Regions from separate parts of the Homo sapiens genome. Here regions 2, 3 and 4 are each linked to region 1. The links are contacts of gene promoters, found by promoter capture Hi-C in human tissues and cell types (Jung and others, 2019). All regions are on one chromosome and are shown on one strand. Each heading gives the region's core, a stretch centred on a gene start or on the middle of the fragment in contact. The rest is flanking DNA. Distances are from core to core; before and after follow the strand shown. Region 1 holds the start of UGT2B15 (UDP glucuronosyltransferase family 2 member B15). Region 2 has its middle 46 kb from the start of UGT2A3. Region 3 has its middle 36 kb from the start of UGT2B10. Region 4 overlaps TMPRSS11E (transmembrane serine protease 11E).

Region 1 (4,556 bases), core at 1,241-3,740:
TTGTCTCAAATAATGTAGTGGGTCTTCCTGATGGAAAAAAACAAAACAAAACAAAAGGTAGCTAACACGAGAATTGTTATTTGAATATGCAGGTATTTTCCTGAAAGGACTTGGAATAACATACCCAAACATATATAAAATGTCTGTGCATTGATAAAATATATATAAATACATTTATATATAGTCATAATTTAGATTTTATTTATTGCATATGTTGCTCATATGTATATATAAGGAAGGCAATGTATTCAGAGATCTGTAAGAAGAAATCACATCTTTAATGTAACATCAGTATATTCACAATCATAAATAATTATTAAAATAAGTCACTAATATGGTTTGACTGTCCCCACCCAAATCTCCTCTCATCTTGAATTATAATCCCCATAATCCCCATGTGTCCAGGGAGGGACCCAGTGGCAGGTGATTGGATCATGGTGTGGATTCCTCCATGCTGTTCTCATGATATTGAGTGAGCTCTCATGAGATCTGATAGTTTTATAAGTGTCTAGTATTTCCCCTGCTTGCACTTCTCTCTCCTGCCACTAAGTGAGAAGATCCAAGCTTGCTTCCCCTTAGCCTTTCACCATGATTCTAAGTTTCTTGAGGCATCCCAGTCATGTAGAACTGAGTCTATTAAACTTCTTTTCTTTATAAATTACCCAGTCTCAGGTATTTCTTTACAGCAGTGTGAGAATGGACTAATGTAGCCACTATGAACTTAAATACACATTTGTCTTCCCTCTGAAGCTGCAATAGTAACAAATATACCTTTAAACAACTCTTTCAGTTCCACAATTAATTCATCTTACCTTACCCATGAAAACAGCTTTCCAGGAAGTACTCTAGTGTCTACAGTTTATTAAGCTAGTCCCTTGATCCTTGGTTCTCAAAGTAAACCATGAGTTTTTTGAGCTCAACACTGAAATCTTTACACCTACTACTGTCTTGGTTCATCTTAAGATCTTAATATAATTAGATTTTTAAAATAAATATATTTACAAATGAGAATTAAAACATTTTCAGAATTTATTGACATAGAGATATGTGCTCTCCCTTAATTTGGCCCCTATTTTCTTTGATGGAGAGATGCAGTTTAATAAAATATAGATTAAAACTTAGATGTTCACTTTCAACAAGATTTCAGTTTTTGAAAGAAATAATTGTCAACCTGTTATTGAAGGAATGTATAAACATTAGAAATCTCAAGTTTTAGGCTTCTGTTTCTGGAGTAGAGCCACTATATTACTCAACTGTGAAGGAATCCTTCTTACATGAAAAACAAAATTTAATTTCTAAATGAGGAAACTGAGGAACTCAAAGAGAAACAAATTCCTCAATCCTGCATTGATAATTTTTCTAGAAATATGTGTAAATACTAAATTTATGTGTCTGCCTTCATGAAGATGTTTCTTGAGGTATCTATTGACTTTTTTTAAAGATGAAAAAATGTATAGCAAAATGATATGTGATAGTTTAAAGAAATCATTAGTGCTTTACAATGAAGGTTTATGACTCTCTGGGTGTCCTGTAGTAGTGATGGCCCCAGGGTTCTAACTGATTCTATAAGGTCAACATTCTATAATATTTTTGAGACTGATAGATCATCTTACATTTGCAATTCATAATTTCCCTTAAAAACACTATCTTCTGACATTATATTTATATAAGCTCACCTTCAAAGGCACAGAAAAGTTAGAACTTAATAAGCACCAGTTAGACACATGACTTACCTAGAACTTCACTATAAAACTGGTCCCACTTCTTCAGATCATAAATTTGAAACCAAAAGTCAAAATAAAGCATATGTATCATATTTTTTATCCTCTCCATGAAAATCATTTGATCACTTAATTCTGACATAACAACAGGTACATAGGAAGGAGGGAACAGAAATCCTCCACCATTCTTCTCAAATGTGTAGCCAACAGAGAATCGAAGACTGTACAGAAAGGGTATGTTAAATAGTTCAGCCAGTAGCTCACCACAGGGATTAAGGGCATCTGCCAGAATGACATCAAACTTTGACTCTTGTAGTTTCATCATAAGTTTCTTATTCAAAACTGCATCTTTACAGAGCTTGTTACTGTAGTCATAATATTCCCAACACAATTCTTGTAATTGTGAAAAATATGACCAAAATGTATTTTTTGAAACACCATATATCCATCTATCGAGAATTTTCAGAAGAGAATCTTCCAAATAATTTTTAGTTAAAGATGTAGGATAAACTTCTAATTTAATAGCAGATGATTTACTGGCATTGACAAGAGTAGAAGCCGAAGATGTCAACACAGTCACCTCATGACCCCTCTGAACAAGCTCTTCCAGGATTGTCTTCATATTTATCCAATGGCTGTATTCTGTGGGCCACACTAGCACCTTTCCACAGCTTCCAGAGCTAAAGTAACAACTGAGCTGTATCAGCAGAAAGACTGACGTCCATTTCAGAGACATCCTGGTCTTATGCAATGCTTCTTTTCCAGTTGTTGTTTCTTTCTGTCATTTCTCATACTTATATCTGAGGAAAAATCAATCAAGTTAAAATATAACTGCTAAAATTTGAAGTAAATACATAATACTAACAGTCTGAATAGGTGCATGCCAAGGAGACCAACAAAAGATTGATGACCTCATATTTATTTTAGTGTGTTTGGTGTTCTTTTATGTTTACAATTACTCTAGTCAAGCAATAATTTTTATGACCTAGAATATGTAAGTAACCTGTCTTATGTAATTATTTTATAATACTGTTAAGAACAGTGGCAAGTGAGAGGCTCCTGCCTGTTCGGTGCCCTTGACATAGAGAGAAGAAGTAATTATACAACTCAAACGGCATTTTTTAATATCGTGGTGCAAGTAATGTCTTCTAAAACTTTGTTGACACATAATTCATATACCATATGACTCACCAATTAGTGTGTACAGTTCAATGTTTCCTAGTATATTCACAGAATTTTACATCCACTACAATAATCAGTATTATCTCCAAAAGATTCTATACAATAGCCTCTAACCCCCCACTCTGAAATTTTGCATCCATCCTACCCTAGGCAACCACTAATCTAATTTCTATCTCTATAGATTAGCATTTTCTGGACCCTTTAAAAAATAAATGAGGGTTTTCCAGTGATCATGGCAGATGGGATGCAGGACTAGATTGCAGCTCCAGACAGAGCAGCATGCAGAGGCTTGCATTGTGAATTTTAGCTGCAGATCAACTGCAAGAACAGACCAGCAATTCTGAGAGGATCCACACACCCTCTGCAGGAAGAGTACTGCTCCTGCAGGACCTGGGAGACATCCCAAACACTGTGAGTGCCCCAACAATGGAAGTGGGAAAGGGTGATCCCCCTCTCCAGAATACACATCCCCACTGGAGAAGCTGAAGTTCTGTTTGCAGGAGAAGTTCCTGACTTTATGTGAAGCTGAGTCAAATTAGAGAACCAAGCCAAGCAAAATACAGGGGTAGAGGAAGTAGCAGAAAGGCACTGGGAGCTCTCTGGATACCCAAGCGGCTCATTCCTGCCTGGCATCACAGGGATCTATCAGGAGGGTGGCCAGTGATGCAGGGGGTTCAAAGATTCTCCTCAGGACCTGAAGGCTTGAAGGGATGAGTAACTCCTCCCTTCTCAGGCCCAGCCCCAAGATGCAAGACCACTTGCATCAGCAGCGTGTGTCAGCAAGATAGCAGAAGCAGGAAGAGAGCCGGCCAGAAGACACTTACCCTGGCTGGAAGAGATGTACCCCTGAAGATCAAGAAATAGGCCATCCAGGTACTACATAGCAGTCACAACAGACTGGGACACTTACTGTTTACAGAGGACTACAAAACCCCTGTCCCATCCTCACTTGGGGCTGATGCCATTTTAGGCCTCAGCCCACCTGCAACCAGGCGTTCATTAAAACAGCATGTTGCTCCACACCGCCTCCTGTTGTCTGTTGGCGCGCTGTTGGGGTTCAAACTGATTCAAGAACCTTACATCTGGTGCCAAATCCTAGGAGGGGCTCAGGTCTGTGTCGCTTGTGGACCTATCCCTCCACCCCAGAGAGCAGGCCACAGCAATTAGACAGAGGAAGCTCCTCAGCCTCCAGTCGCCTCTCTGTGCATGCGCATCAGCCACTGATCTCGCCTACTGGTAAGTTTCCCTTGGAGCCCGGTTAACAGGGCAAAATCTACATGGCCTCTCTTGGTTTCTCCAGTCCAAAAATCCAACACTGATCCAAGAAGGCGCCAGCGTGCGCCAGGCACTCGCTGGTCATCTGGTCTTAGGGGGATGCCTCTAAGCCATTTCATCCCGTTCCAGGAACCAAAAAGGCAGCGGAGACGATAACTCCTTTTATCGTCTCCCTCCAGCTGTCCAGGATGGTCTCCTTTTTCCCTGTTCTCTCGAGCTACCCTTCATTATGGGAAACTCCCGGTCCTCAATTCCAAAAAACAGCCCTCCAGCCTGCCTCATTAAAAATCTGCAAACCTTAGGCCTCAGGCAAGATATCTGCCATAAGTGCCTTGTCTTTTTTATACGATAAAGCCTGGTCGCAGTATGAATTAGATA
Region 2 (4,556 bases), core at 883-3,382, 230 kb after region 1:
GAGGCCATCCAAATGCCACAGAATCTAATTGCCTGGATAAGTACGTCGCTGGGCAGTGCCATGATCCTATGGATTTAGTTAGAACTCCTATGGCCATTCCCTTTTGCTCGTGGACATATAAAAAGAAAGGCTTCGTTAGATCTGTCAGTCCTAAAGCTGGGACCAGAGTCAAGGCTTCTTTGATTTCCTTAAAGGCCTTCTCCTGGTTGGCCTCCCAGAGGATGGTCTCCTTTTCCCCCACTTTGTGGTTTCATATAATAGCTTAGCCATGAGTGAGAAATTTGGGATCCAGATGTGGCAGAGCCCTGCTACCCCTAGGAACTCTCTTATTTTTCACCAGGTGGTTGGAGTAGGAAGTGCACAAACCACCTGCTTCCATTCACAACCAAGCCATCTTTTCCCTTAGCTTATATAGAAGCCTAAATATTGGAAACTTTCAAAGCAAATTTGAGCCTTTTTCCCTGACACTTTATATCCTGCCTTCCATAGCAGGTGCAGGAGGTCTTGGGTCCCTTGGAAGCAGTCCTCTTGAGTTGGGGCTGCTAGAAGAAGATCATCAATGTACTGGAGCAAGACACAGTAACTATTCGGTGGGGTGTAGACTTTAAGATCTGAGGCCAGTGCCTCTTCAAAGATTGTAGTGGAGTTTTTAAATCCTTGTGGGAATCTTGTCCAAGTGTACTGTGATTTACCCCCATTGAAAAACAAAACTAGCCTGACTAATTGGTGCAAACTGGAGACAGAAAAATGCATTCTTTAAATCTAGGACTGTAAATCAAGTGGCACTTGCTGGAATATGTCCCATTAAGGTATGCAGGTTTGACACCACTGGGTGGATGGTCACTGTGGCCTGGTTTTCTGAATGCAAATCCTGTACTGGCCTATATTCCCCAGACGGCTTCCGCACTGGCAAGAGAATGTTGTTCCATGGTGACTGGCATTTGGCTATGATTCCATGCTTATGAAGCCACTCTAAATGTTTGTGGACACCCCGTATGTCCTCAGGGAGTAGCGAGTACTGTCGGACCCGAACCGGAGTTTCTCCCAGTTTTAACTCTACCACCACCGGTGCCTGATTTACGCTGGCACCAGTCCAGGTGGATTACTTTCAGCCCAAACTCTGGGAATTTTAGTAAGTAACCCATGCATTTCATTTACTCCTGGTTCCGGAGTCTTTTTTGCATAGTCTCCATTTCTCAGCCTGCAGGACAGTGAGGGTTAACATCATAGCCTCTGGGCAAACTACGTTTAAAGTTACATTCCCTTGCGGCCCAAATGTAATCTGTGCCTGCAGTTTTTGAAGTAGGTCTCTTCCCAGCAAAGAAACTGGACAATTTAGGAGGTATAGGAATTCATTTTGGACTTCTCATCCTCCTATAACACACCTCTTTGACCGACAGGCCACTTTTCAGAGACTCCAGTGGCTCCTACAATAGTTGCACAGTTCTTGGATTGTGGCTCTATAGGTCAGGTCACTACTAAGTGTTTAGTTCTGGTGTCTACCGTAAAGTCCATTAGCTGGCCTCTAACTTCTAATCTGACCATGGGCTCCTCGGGTCCCAAAGAGAAGCAGCCTGGTCTGTCCTACCCTCATATCCTTCAGCCCCTGCCAGTCCAATCAGATCGATGTCTGGTTCCTCCCTGGTGTGGCAGCCACCAGTAGGTGGCCTTCCTATACTACTGCCCTGGGGTCTCTTTTCCCTCCAGTGGTTCTTGCAAAATTGGTTTTTCCTGTGGCTTTCTTTTTGTCTCTGTGTTTGCCGGAGAAGCTTTCACTTTTTGCTCAGCTCAACCTACAAGCTCCTGTGACTTTCCCTTTAACTCTGTGTTTACAGGCGAAGCTTTCACTTTGTCTTTGCAGCTGCCAGCACAGGTGATTTCTCTCAGCTCGACCTGCGAGTATCCTGCAATAAGCTGCTAAACAGGGCTGCATTCAGCCATGAGTTAACATAAGGAAATTTGGTCTGAATGCCCTGACTGTCCTCCTTGTTATTATTCTCTGGACACTCATCCTTCCAGTGTCCTTTTCTTTTGCACCGCTCACACTGATCTCTTTCCAGCCTCGGCTGGCCCTCAAATCCCTGTCCAGACTGGCCTCTTCCATGCCCATGTCCATACCCACATCCATGAGGGATGCTGCCAGCAAATCAGCCTTTTTCTCAAGCCTTCTATTAGCCTCCCTCTTTGCCTCCTGATCTTGGTTAATGTACACCTTCGTGGCCACTTCAATAAGCTGAGTAGCATTCATCCCTTTAAAACCTTCCATTTTCTGCAATTTTCACTGGATATCCCCCTGGGCCTGCTCTACAAATGCCATGTTCATCATGCACTGGCCTCACCAAGTCTTTTATAAAAATGGCTGGGGCTTTCATCTGCACCCTGATGCCCCTCTGAGATTTTTCCTATATTGATTGCCTGTCTCCCGCCTTCCCTTAAATTTTGCAGGAGTGCCTCTTGGTATCTTGGCAGCTGCTATAGTTGGGCTGCCTCATTCCTTTGGGTTCTAGTGGGGGTCCTCTAGTTTCCAGGAGAGGCATTTGCATAGCCCTAACACAACCTGACTGGAGGTGGCTTGCCTGTTTTTCCTAGCATTTCACCTTAACTTCCTGGAGTGAGGGCTCAGATTTTTCCCTCTCAAGAGAGACTGGGGGCATGTATCCATTTGAGCTTGACTCCTCAGAGGCAGTTAACCTGGGGAAAGCGGGGGTAGATTGGAACATATGGAGGAGGGGTCTCTTTTCCCTCCAGTGGTTCTTGAAAAACTGGTTTTTCCTGTGGCTTTCTTTTTGTCTCTGTTTGCTCACGCTACAAGCTCCTGTGACTTTCCCTTTAACTCTGTTTACAGGCGAAGCTTTCACTTTGTCTTTGTAGCTGGCAGCACAATTGATTTCTCTTGGCTTGAGCTGTGAGCATTCTTCAATAAGCTGCTAAACAGGGCTGCATTCAGCCATGAGTTAATATAAGGAAATTTGGTCTGAATTATCTGACTGTCCTCCAACTCAGGTCACCACCTTAAACACACGGCCAATTTTCTCCCTATCTGTAGCACATTTGGCAGGCCAGCCAACACCAAAAAAGGGCTATTCTAATTCACAGAGAGCTCTCAGCATCTGAGGGGTTAACTTGACTCCCTCAACCCCTGCAAAGCCTTTCTTAAAGTTCTTTAACATACATTCCAATGGGGTGGGTTTCCACGATTTTCCTCCCATTTCCTCCCAGTTATGATGCAGCACATTCACCTTTCCTTTTGTTTTAGACCGATTGGACCCGGTTGGTCCTACATTTTGCTCGGAGCGTACAGCCTACACTAAGAGATCAGCAGCTCCACACATGTCATTCCCGTTGGTTCCTCCCAGAACTGTCTCTTTCACACGCACTCACACACTTCCCCGCTCCCAGTTCCCTATCCTGGTTGGGGCAGTGAACCGCTCTCACTGCATCCAGTTTCCTTCTGAACTAACTTAGCGAGCCACTCTCGCGTCCTGTGTTGGTTGGGGTGTGAGTTTCATCCAAATTTGTGAGCCACTCTCACCGTCCCCCAGCCTCTCTGTGTTGGATTAGTTGTCACTCCCTGGGAGGTGATCAGGCTCCCCTTCTGTCCTTATGGGATAGGTCCTGCCTTGGGCCCCAAAACTTTACCATGGTTCTGAAGAAAGGGCGCCATTCCTGGAACCGTCCTGCAACCCCTCCGGGTTCCCTTGTGCTGTCAGGGGAGGGGCACCGGGGACGCGGGAGAACAGCTCCTTTCTCTGGGCTTAAGTTCCCTTGATGGGTCCTGAAGTTAAGGGTCTCCCACAGCCGAGGCCCCAGACCGCCCACAGGCAAAGAAGCCAGCCAAGCTGCAGTCTCTCAGTCCCATGTGGGTCACCAGGTGTGTAGCGGATCAGGAGGACCCGAGAGAGACCTTGGGGTATATAGAGGAGGATATCTTTATTGAGTACACTCAGACCCAACGGACTTACCATCCAAAGATGGGGCCCCCAACAAAGACAGCACTTGACTTTTATACACACTTTAAAAAAGGGGTGGGCTAACTTGGTGCAGGCTTACGGTGGCACGAAAGCAGGGATACAGAAGGAGAACAATTAATAAAATTGTGACAGGTTCATAACCCAGGATTACACATGACTATTGCTATGCAACCTAGATGACTGTTATCTAGGTTTTGCTCAAAAGAGCCTTGCACTGGTTTATCTTATAACCTTCACTATGGTGCCCAGACAGCTGTAGTTCAGGCGTACTCAGACTTCTCAGGACCTTTGCTGTGCTTTTTAGATAAAGCAGAAATCTTGAGGTTACTAGTTACAGAGAACAAGAATCTGTAAAGTCATACCATAAAACAGAGGAAAATTTGTTTTTCTTCTCCCTATGTTGAAGGAGTGCTGAGAGAGTCACCAGACCACATTTCTTTGGTGTGTGTCCTGGCTTTTTAGATAGTATTAAGAATTTCCCTGGGTCTGGGCTGCACCCATTGCTGCCTCTGGGACTAGTTAGCCTAATACAGGAAAGCCTATTTCTCTTTTTAATTTTATTTTTCTTTCTTTCTTTAATTTCCT
Region 3 (4,556 bases), core at 987-3,486, 180 kb after region 1:
ACAGGTTGATGGGTGCAGCAAACCACCACGGCACATGTATACCTATGTAACCAACCTGCACATTCTGCACATGTATCCCAGAACTTAAAGTATAATAAAAAAAATTTTAAAAATAAAGAATAAATTGTCTCTACAAAAAACTTCTTAAAAAATTAGCCTAGTGTTGTGGTGTTCCTGTAGTCCTAGCTACTCAGCAGGCTGAGGTGGGAGGATCCCTAGAGCCTAGGAGTCAGAGGTTACAGTAAGCTTCAATGTCACCACTGCATTTCAGCCTGTGCAACAGAGAGAGAGACCCTGTCTCAAAACAAAAGAAAAGGATTACCAAACCCAAACATAAAGCTTTTAGAGAAAAATAGGAGCCATCTCCCTTGATTACTTGGCAGCAGGCAAAGCTTTCTTAGACAGATTACAGAAAAAGCATAAAAGAAAAAATAATAAAATAATAAATTAGACTTCATAAACAAATGACAACAGTGAAAACTCCCACTCACAAGACACTGTAGAAACAATCCAAGTATCCACCAATTGGAGAATGAATAAACAAACGAGGTGCAGAATATGCAGTATACTCATATACATCTGTGACACGCAACAATACAGATGAATCCAAAACATGTTAGGCTGAGTGGAAACTAGCCACAAAAGAGTACATACTGAATGCATAATTTCATATATAAGATATTCTAAAACAATCTCCTCTGGGAAGCAAGGGCTGAGTTGGACTGCAAAGAGGCATGAAGGGACATTTGTGTGGTCATAATAATGTCTTATGGGTTTGGGTTTATAGAGGTGTAAGCATTTGTTGAAACTCAAAAAATGTATAGTGAAGATACATGCATTTCGTTGTATGCAAATTTTATAACGAAATACTGAAAAATATACTGTAGTCAATTATATATATATATGCTGACTATGAGTAAAAAAAGCACATCTCTTCCTAGATTTTACTGTTAAATTGAATGAATAAAAATCATATATCTTTCTTATCTGGTTATTGTGAGTAGCCATGCAATGGTTCTTAGAATACTTGCTGAAATTATTCTCATCATAAAGAGATTCTTAGTAAATGTTTGCTACTATCACCGTTTTTTCTTGTTGTATTTTGATTTTAGAATTTAAGAAGAGTTCAATATTTTACTTTGAGACATTGCATTGAATGCTTTGAGGCATTTAGTGTTAAAATAATTATGGACTAATAGACAAATAATAAGGATGGATATAAGTATATGCTTACCAAGTTAAAATTATGAAGTGTTAATGCATAGCACTGTAGCAATAGCAATGGAGGTAACTTCTGTTCTTGTTATTTAAAGATCACAGTGGGAAGACTGTGTTTTTCAGAGGGTGACATTAATCCTGATTTATGTTTTTAATACAATTGTAAAAAACTATAATCAAGAAGTTACATAATACAAAGAACCAATACAATGCATGTCATTTCATATACATTCAATATGTGTTAACTATTCAAAAATTATCTTTATTTTTCAACACCAGAATGAGTTTATTAAAATTAATATTAAAAACATAATAGTAAATATTAAAATTATTTAATTTTTGTTAATGTAACTATTAATAAAATAGCATAACTAAAATTATTGTGTGTACTGAAATAATTTAAAAACAACAAATTTCTGGTTTCAGACATTTTGGCTGTTAAACAGAAATATTCCAATTTATCTCTTTCAAGCCCGTTATTTTATAATTATTTCAAATGAGACAAAAGCAACCACAACCACAATAACAAAGAATATGGTCACTTTTATACTAGTATCTTATTTTTTTCAATTGTTTTAAACAGGTAAATTTGAAAGGCGTAGTGGTTTACAATTCATCAGTGATGGGATTAAAAATATTAACATCATAATTATTTCCTTATAATTAAATAGAAGAGGAACTAGTGATTGATTATGTCATGCCAATTTACTGAAAATAAAGCATTTTGGAAGAGTTTTAAAAACAATAAAAAAATTGAGTAACTAATGTGAGATGATTGACACATGCTTACCTGCTTCATTATAGCAACCTTTTCACTACATATTTGCATCTGATGATAGCATCTCGTATACATTATATATACCAAATAAAATTTATCCAGAAAAATAACATTTGATGAGCTCTCATGCTGAAAGACTGGCATAAACATGGTGAAAACTAGACAGTACTCTAATAATATTTATGTTTCCCTGCTTCAACTTTGTTCTCAGTCTTCTTTATAATGTGTTGTTACCATCTTCAGCAATTCCTATTTCATTTTTGACTATTTTAAAACTTATGCACTAGCCTAGAACCTCTGATAAACATTTCCACTAAAACCACCAAAGTGAAGTATAGGCGACACTCCAGTATGAAGTGTGTTACCACTTCATGATAAAGACTGGGGATTTTTTCCCATATAAAATGCTGTCACTGGAAATAAAAGACAGGCTGTTATTTTTCAGTTGCAACTGAAATATCCCTACATAAGGAGAAAGGGTGTTTGTAATGATTGAATTAGGAGACAGACAACCTAGAAAATTATTGAACTTTTATTGTTTAAGAGGTAACTACAGTTGAAATAGAAATAAAGATAATTTGTTCTAGCCATAAAGAACGTAACTGTGTATAAAAAAAATGGTAACTGTTGTAATTAATTGTATTTTTCCCCCAGGACTGGAACATAAATATAAACATGCTAGATTTTATTTTTGAGTTTTTAAATAATAAATGGTGAATCTGTTTTTTTTCTGTTGAAGTATTTTCATCATGATTGGCTGTTAGCCATGTTTTCAATCTTTGTTCTTCAGAGTCTCACCAAGGCCATTCTGGACTACCCACTATACAGCGAAGTATTGATACTAAGGTATCTGATTTCCTGTCATCAAATTTCCATGTGATCATTTATATAAAGAAAATACTTTGTTCTGAGTCAAATTCAAATTAAACCATATTTGTTAGAATTCTAAAAAGACTGAGAACCCTACTAAATGCCTTCTATATAGCAGACAAAGAAAACAGAATAGGACAGGTTAATTAATGAGAACTACTAGAAGACTGAAGTAAGCAGAACAACTATATTTCCTGGACTTATTTTTACATTAGATCAGTTTAAATGCAATCATAATATTTCATACATAGTGACTTAAACAATTGAGATAATAAATGAAAAATTCAAGTATTTAATTGTTAGACAGTCATAATTCTGGTGTGAAGAAGAGTAACAAATTAATAATGGTCCACACTTTTTAAATTAATGTTTGTACTATACTCACTCTCTTCTTCCAAATTTATTATTAAGCTTTTTTATTTTTAAAACAATGAAATGGGAGACAGTTTACTTATATCCACTTGTTCCATAGTTACAGTCTGACATCTTTTGATTTACAAACAAAGCAAATCTATGTAATCCTCTCTGTATGAGAAATAAATTAATTCTGCTTAGGAATTACATATAAAGATAAAAAATTTCAAGTGGCATTTTTCATGTATATCCATAATATTATTACATTTGTTAGCATGGACATTTTTAGATATGAGAAAGAATGATTGGCATCTTATAAATAATAGTGCTGTTGAAAAAAATTCTAAAATGCAATGATGCTAAATTTTATTCAAAGACTGTTAAATCTTCGATGACATACTCCAAAGCATTGACAGCAGTGTTTAATATGGTTGTCTATAGCTAAGCCATTTGGTACATGCCTAGTACCATAATGAGGTACTGATTTTGGAATTACCAGGAAATCATCATAAACTAGTGCATAATTTACAAATTTTTAAAATTTAGTTTTTATGTGAGTGTTAAAAATAACTTCAGGTTTGCAGCCAAAAATAGTATAGGTAATTATAAAAAGCTACGTAGAATAAAAAAATAAAGAGTATTTCATAAGTATTCAAAGATCATAGTTGTGTTGTACATATTAGAAAGTTAGTTATTATTATATTTTAGGGGTTGGAGCATCTGAACTTCTCTCCTTGCTTGAGTTTTCCTCTCTTTCTTCTTCTTCTTCCTTTTTGTTTTTATTTGAAATAGTCTCACTCTGCCTTTCAGGTTGGAGTGTGGAAGTGTGATCACAGCTCACTGTAACCTTAAACTCCTGGGCTCCATCAATCCTCCTGCCTCAGCCTCAAGAATAGCTAAGACTACAGGCATGCACCTCTGCACACTTCTATTTATTATTATTATTATTACTTTTTGTAGACACAGGGTCTCTGTATGTTGCCCAGACTGGTCTCGAACTCCTGGGCTCGAGGAATTCTCCGACTTTCCTCTCTGCAGCTGGTTGTCCTGATGTCTGCTCAGCTCCTAGCTGAAAAGAGGCCTTAGAGTGGGTTGCTCCTCTCTGCAGCTTGTTGTCCCGATGTCTCTGCAGGTCTCAGAAGCTCTCCACTGAGAAGGTAGTTCCTCTCTGCAGCTGGTCATATTGTCATCTGCTCAGCTATGGCTGAACCCATAGTTTTAATGGGCCTCACTAGGGAGAAAGTGCAAGTTAATTGGTCTGTGAGCAGCCATGGGTGGGCCCAGAAGAGGCACCACAAGTTCCCACTTCGGTCCATGGGACAGACAGGCAACCTAG
Region 4 (4,556 bases), core at 1,110-3,609, 180 kb before region 1:
TGTCAAAAAATGCCTTGGCTGGGCAGCTGAGGCAGTGCTGCAAGTTTGTGTAGCCAGGCAGGGAATTTGGCATAGGCCAGCAGACAAGCGAGTGCTTGGATCAGATTGTTCCCATCCCACAAGCAAGAGAGCCCTGTGATGTCCAGGTCTGTCCATCAACAAAGGCGAAAGCCACCTAGAGATGTATGATATTTGGGGGATGGGCACCCATGCCATGCTCTGCTGTAGCCATTCTCATGCCAAACCCTGTGGACTCTGTGCAGGCTAGAATTCTGTCTCTTTCAACTCTCCAGGCTGTTCTCCCTGCCACCTTAACTGTCCATGGGGGATGAGGGGTCTCCTGCAGCTAAGATTCTGGAGGTCTGTGGTGTGAGTTGGCCACTCCATGACCATTTAACTTACTCCTTCCCCAGGAGCCTCTCCAGGCCAGGAACAAGTTCTGGTGCTTGGCAACCCTGTGCAGGGTTACCAGCTTCCTTCCCTTTCAGCCTGGGGTCTGCATTCTCCTTCCATCAACTCTCAATGCCTTCTTTCTGAAAATTTGTTCAGAGTGTGCCAGTCTTCTTGATGGTCTGGTCCCTCACTGGGAGAAGGTCTTCTTGTCTGCGTCTGGTCGGCCATTTTGTTTTAGTATTTATTAAATAATGAAATAATAATAATTTGAAAAAATTAAATTATTATTATTTAAAACTCTAGATCTTATTTAAATTTTCTATTTAACCATGCCTCAGCAGACATTGTGATGCAGAGGGAGGGGGATGTATGAAGGAATTGCCTCATTTCCCACTCAGCTTCCTTTGATGCTCAGGTGAGGGACTAATGCTCATTACTACTGCATGGAGGTTAGGCCTCTTCTGATAACACTCTGGCTGAAGGTACTTTGTTACTGCTCCCCTTTTGGCCTCCACTGACATCATGGGGTAGTGATTTCATTACTGCTTCGCAGTGGTGAAAGACTTGACTTCCCACTACCTCTCCTCAGACATGGTTCTAGTAGATGGGGAGAGTTATTCCTCATTACTGGGTGGTAGTTCATGCTTCCCACTCAGCATATTCTTTTTTTTTTTTTTTTTTTTTTTTTTGAGGTGGAGTCTCGCTTGTTGCCCAGGCTGGAGTGCAGTGGTGCCATCTTGGCTCACTGCAACCTCTGCCTCCTAGGTTCCAGCAATTCTCCTGCCTCAGCCTCCTGAGTAGCTGAGATTAAAGGCATGTGCCACGACACCTGACTAATTTTTGTATTTTTAGTAGAGACGGCGTTTTGCCATGTTTGCTAGGCTGGTCTGAAACTCCTGATTTCAGGTCATCCACCTGCTTCAGCCTTCCAACGTGCTGGGATTACGAGTGTGAGCCACTGCACCTGGTGCCTATTCAGCATATTCTGACACCAATCTAGTAGGGAATTGGGCCTTCTTACAGCCTGGTAAGCATGGAAGTCTTTTCAGTTGGGATTTATTGTCTTCCTGGATTTGCTGTTTTCCCAAGTTGTCCTCTTATTGATTATTTTACTAGGGAGAGCAGGATTTTCTTGGAGCCTTTTAAAAAACTTGCACTTGTTGGCAGGTTGCCAGGTTGCTGGCTTCTTCCAAGTCCATGATATATGAAGCAAAAAAAAAAAAAAAAAAAAAAAAATTGAGAGAGCTCACTCTTGTATCATTCCTTTTGTCCTGCATTTCTGAGCCCACCTGTCGTCTTCTCTCTAATTTTCAGAGTCTTTTTATGTTTGTTTTATTTGTAATGCCCAGGTATTTTTTTGTTTGTTTTAGCCATATTTAGCTGGGGAAAAAAGAATAAGTAAGTCTGTCCCATATTGGTCTGGAGCGTTTACATATTTTTGAAGCCGGGTTTTGTTTTCCAGTGTTTGGCTATTGCCACCAATTTTGTGCCTTTGGTGGATACAAAAATTTTGACCTCTATGTCTTCATGTGCATCACTCACAAAATCATGGAGGGGGCCAATAACTGGTTCCTTCTGTGTGTCACTAAATGCTTTCATAATTTTCATTTTGTGATTTGACAGAATTTTTGTTTAATGTGCTTTCTAAGCCCTATAGTTCTCTTCAGAATTCCATGTTACTCTGTGTGCTTTCTAATCTGTATTCATAAAATGGTACCATTAATTTCTAAGATTTTTTTTTACAATTTTTAATGTTATTCCTTTCATGCTTTCGCATGAACACTATCTGTATTGCCTTCATTTGCTCCACCTCATTTAATTCCCTGTTGGCATCACTATAGTTCTTTCCCAACTTTTACCTTTGGGTTAGTCGTTTTAGCAATGTTCAGTTTGCTACATTAAATTCTTTTATTCAGTTGACCTTTGTTTATACTCTGGCAAATGCCCAAGTTTAGACTCACTTCATTTTGTTTCTTTTTCTGTGTTTCCTAATTGCTCCTGGAGGAACACACGGAACAAAGTAGATTGGTCCCATTACCACACACTACTAAAAATTCCTTCCTAACAATTGAAATTGATTCTGTAATTCAATCTCCTGAAATGAATTCAACTTAAAAGATGACTTGAAAATATACTTGATCCTTGTTATTTGCAGATTCCATATTTGCAAATTCACCTACTCACTAAAATTTATTTGTAACCCCCAAATCAATACTCAAGGCACTTTTATGATCATTCACAAGCATGCACAGAGTGGCAAAATATCTTATTACTCAATGAGCATATTCTTACCTGAGGTTGAAAAATGTGATACTGTGCCTTTTTGTTTCAGTTCTCATTCTGTAAACAAGTGTCTTTTCTTGGTCTACATAGTGCTACATTTTTCACATTTTTATTATCTTTGCTGGCGATTTTGCTGTTTAAAATAGTCCCCAACTGTAGTGCCAAAGTATAGTGCAAGAAGGTTGTGATGTGCCATATGGAGAAAATATGTATATTTGGTAAGCTTTGTTTAGTTATAAGTTTTAGCGGTGTTTACTGTGAGTTTAATGTTAATGAATCAACAATGTATATTAAATAGAACGTCTTTAAACAGAAACACACACGAAATCTGTTTATGTCTTGAGCAGTTGACAAAAATGTGACCAGAGTCTCCTGGAAAACCAACCCTGTATTTCTCCTAAGAACAAGGACTCAACAGTCATTAATTCAGCATTTGTGGTGACTTCACAGAACACGACTACCATGAATAATGAGAATAACCTGTATTTTATTTGTCTTCTTGACGGTCATGGAATCATTGATGGTTTAGATATTATGCTAGACCTTCTTTTGTCCTAATCATCATCATCCTACTTGCCTCCAACTTTCCTGAAACTGTTGAAAACATCGTGCACTTTTACATTTATGATCATCCATTATTTTCTTTATTCAACTATCTCGGTTTCTATAGTCTCTATAGTAATGTCCTTCCTAAAAATTTCAGAGAAACAGATGTATGCCCTCTTAATCTTTTATTTTATAATTTTTATTATAAAAATTTCAATGGTATGCAAAAATAGGGAGGATAAAATAATGAACTTTCATGTACTCATCACCTAGTTCAAAAATTTACAACTCATGGCCAACCTTACGTTATCCGTACATACCCTGATAAAATCCCCTCATCCCCTTTCCCTACCAAAATATCAAATCTATTTTGAAGTTAATCCCAGATGTTATATACTTTCATCTGAAAATGTCCCCATTCAAAAATACTATTTTGATGGTGATATTAGAGGTACACGCTTTACAAACTTTGTGAGCTACAGAAGAGAAGCCAAATTTGCCCTATGATTACAATATTCTACTTTCTTATCTCTGGGAAGACATGGCACCCATTTTTTTGGGGGGGAGGGATGGAGTTTCATGCTTGTTACCCAGGCTGGAGTGCAGTGGTGTGATCTCGGCTCACTGCAACCTCCACCTTCTGGATTTAAGCTATTCTCTCGCCTCAGCCTCCTGAGTAGCTGAGATTACAGGCAACCGCCACCACACCAGACTAATTTTTGTATTTTTAGTAGAGACAAGGTTTCACCATGTTGGTGAAAAATTCCTTCCTAGCTTCCAGGCTGGTCTCAAGCTCCTGACCTCAGGAGATCTACCTGCCTCAGCTTCCCAAGGTGCTGGGATTACAGGTGTAAGCCATCTTGCCCAGCCTCCATTTAAAAAATGTTCATGTCTAGCATCCACAGTTTTTACCACTTGCCTTGCTCTTTATATTTTAATATCACAAAAACCACTAATAACCTCATATGTAAAAATTTTTCCTTGAATCTCCTACTGTTTCTCATCTCAGTGGTATTTGGCGACCTTGCCTTTCTTAAGACATATCCCTTGTTTGAATTTCATAATTCTGAAATTTGCTGATTTCTTTCCTCCTCCTCCATCTACTCATTTCTGGCTGTATCCTTTGATTAATCTTTCTCTCTCTCTCTCAATCTGGCTATGCTCAAGATTCAGATCTCAGATAAAGTTTTTATCTGCTGTCTATATTCTCACTCAAAGAAGCCATCTTTTCTTTGAACTCAGCTATCACCTTAATGAGTGCCAAACCTGTGTCTCCAGAATTCAACTCTTGCCCATATTTAGTCTTACATTTCTACCTACTTCAAAGTGATTTC

What was found. Contacts are between HindIII fragments. The study calls those that stand out against the background at their distance.
Region 2: a contact is called between a fragment that was not itself captured here and the fragment with the promoter of UGT2B15 in region 1, in 2 of the 25 tissues and cell types used here (liver and mesenchymal stem cells).
Region 3: a fragment that was not itself captured here is called in contact with the fragment with the promoter of UGT2B15 in region 1 in 2 of the 25 tissues and cell types used here (bladder and mesenchymal stem cells).
Region 4: a contact is called between a fragment that was not itself captured here and the fragment with the promoter of UGT2B15 in region 1, in 1 of the 25 tissues and cell types used here (H1 embryonic stem cells).

Annotation. Positions count from the first base shown.
Region 1 is chr4:68,668,162-68,672,717 of GRCh38, forward strand. UGT2B15 (UDP glucuronosyltransferase family 2 member B15) reads right to left here and starts at 2,491. Exons shown (of 6, transcript NM_001076.4): 1 at 1,734-2,491; 2 at 1-27. The coding sequence starts at 2,457. The HindIII fragment of the contact is 11,998 bases long and covers 1-4,556 here.
Region 2 is chr4:68,903,236-68,907,791 of GRCh38, forward strand. It overlaps the pseudogene LOC101930041. Among named protein-coding and RNA genes, the nearest start is that of UGT2A3, 46 kb to the right of the region's middle. RefSeq lists enhancers at 617-1,509, 2,401-3,292, 3,293-4,183. The HindIII fragment of the contact is 4,602 bases long and covers 1-4,433 here.
Region 3 is chr4:68,849,580-68,854,135 of GRCh38, forward strand. No RefSeq gene overlaps it. Among named protein-coding and RNA genes, the nearest start is that of UGT2B10, 36 kb to the left of the region's middle. The HindIII fragment of the contact is 6,022 bases long and covers 1-4,556 here.
Region 4 is chr4:68,489,696-68,494,251 of GRCh38, forward strand. All of the region lies in intron 9 of TMPRSS11E (transmembrane serine protease 11E), which reads left to right. Among named protein-coding and RNA genes, the nearest start is that of TMPRSS11E, 45 kb to the left of the region's middle. The HindIII fragment of the contact is 3,834 bases long and covers 443-4,276 here.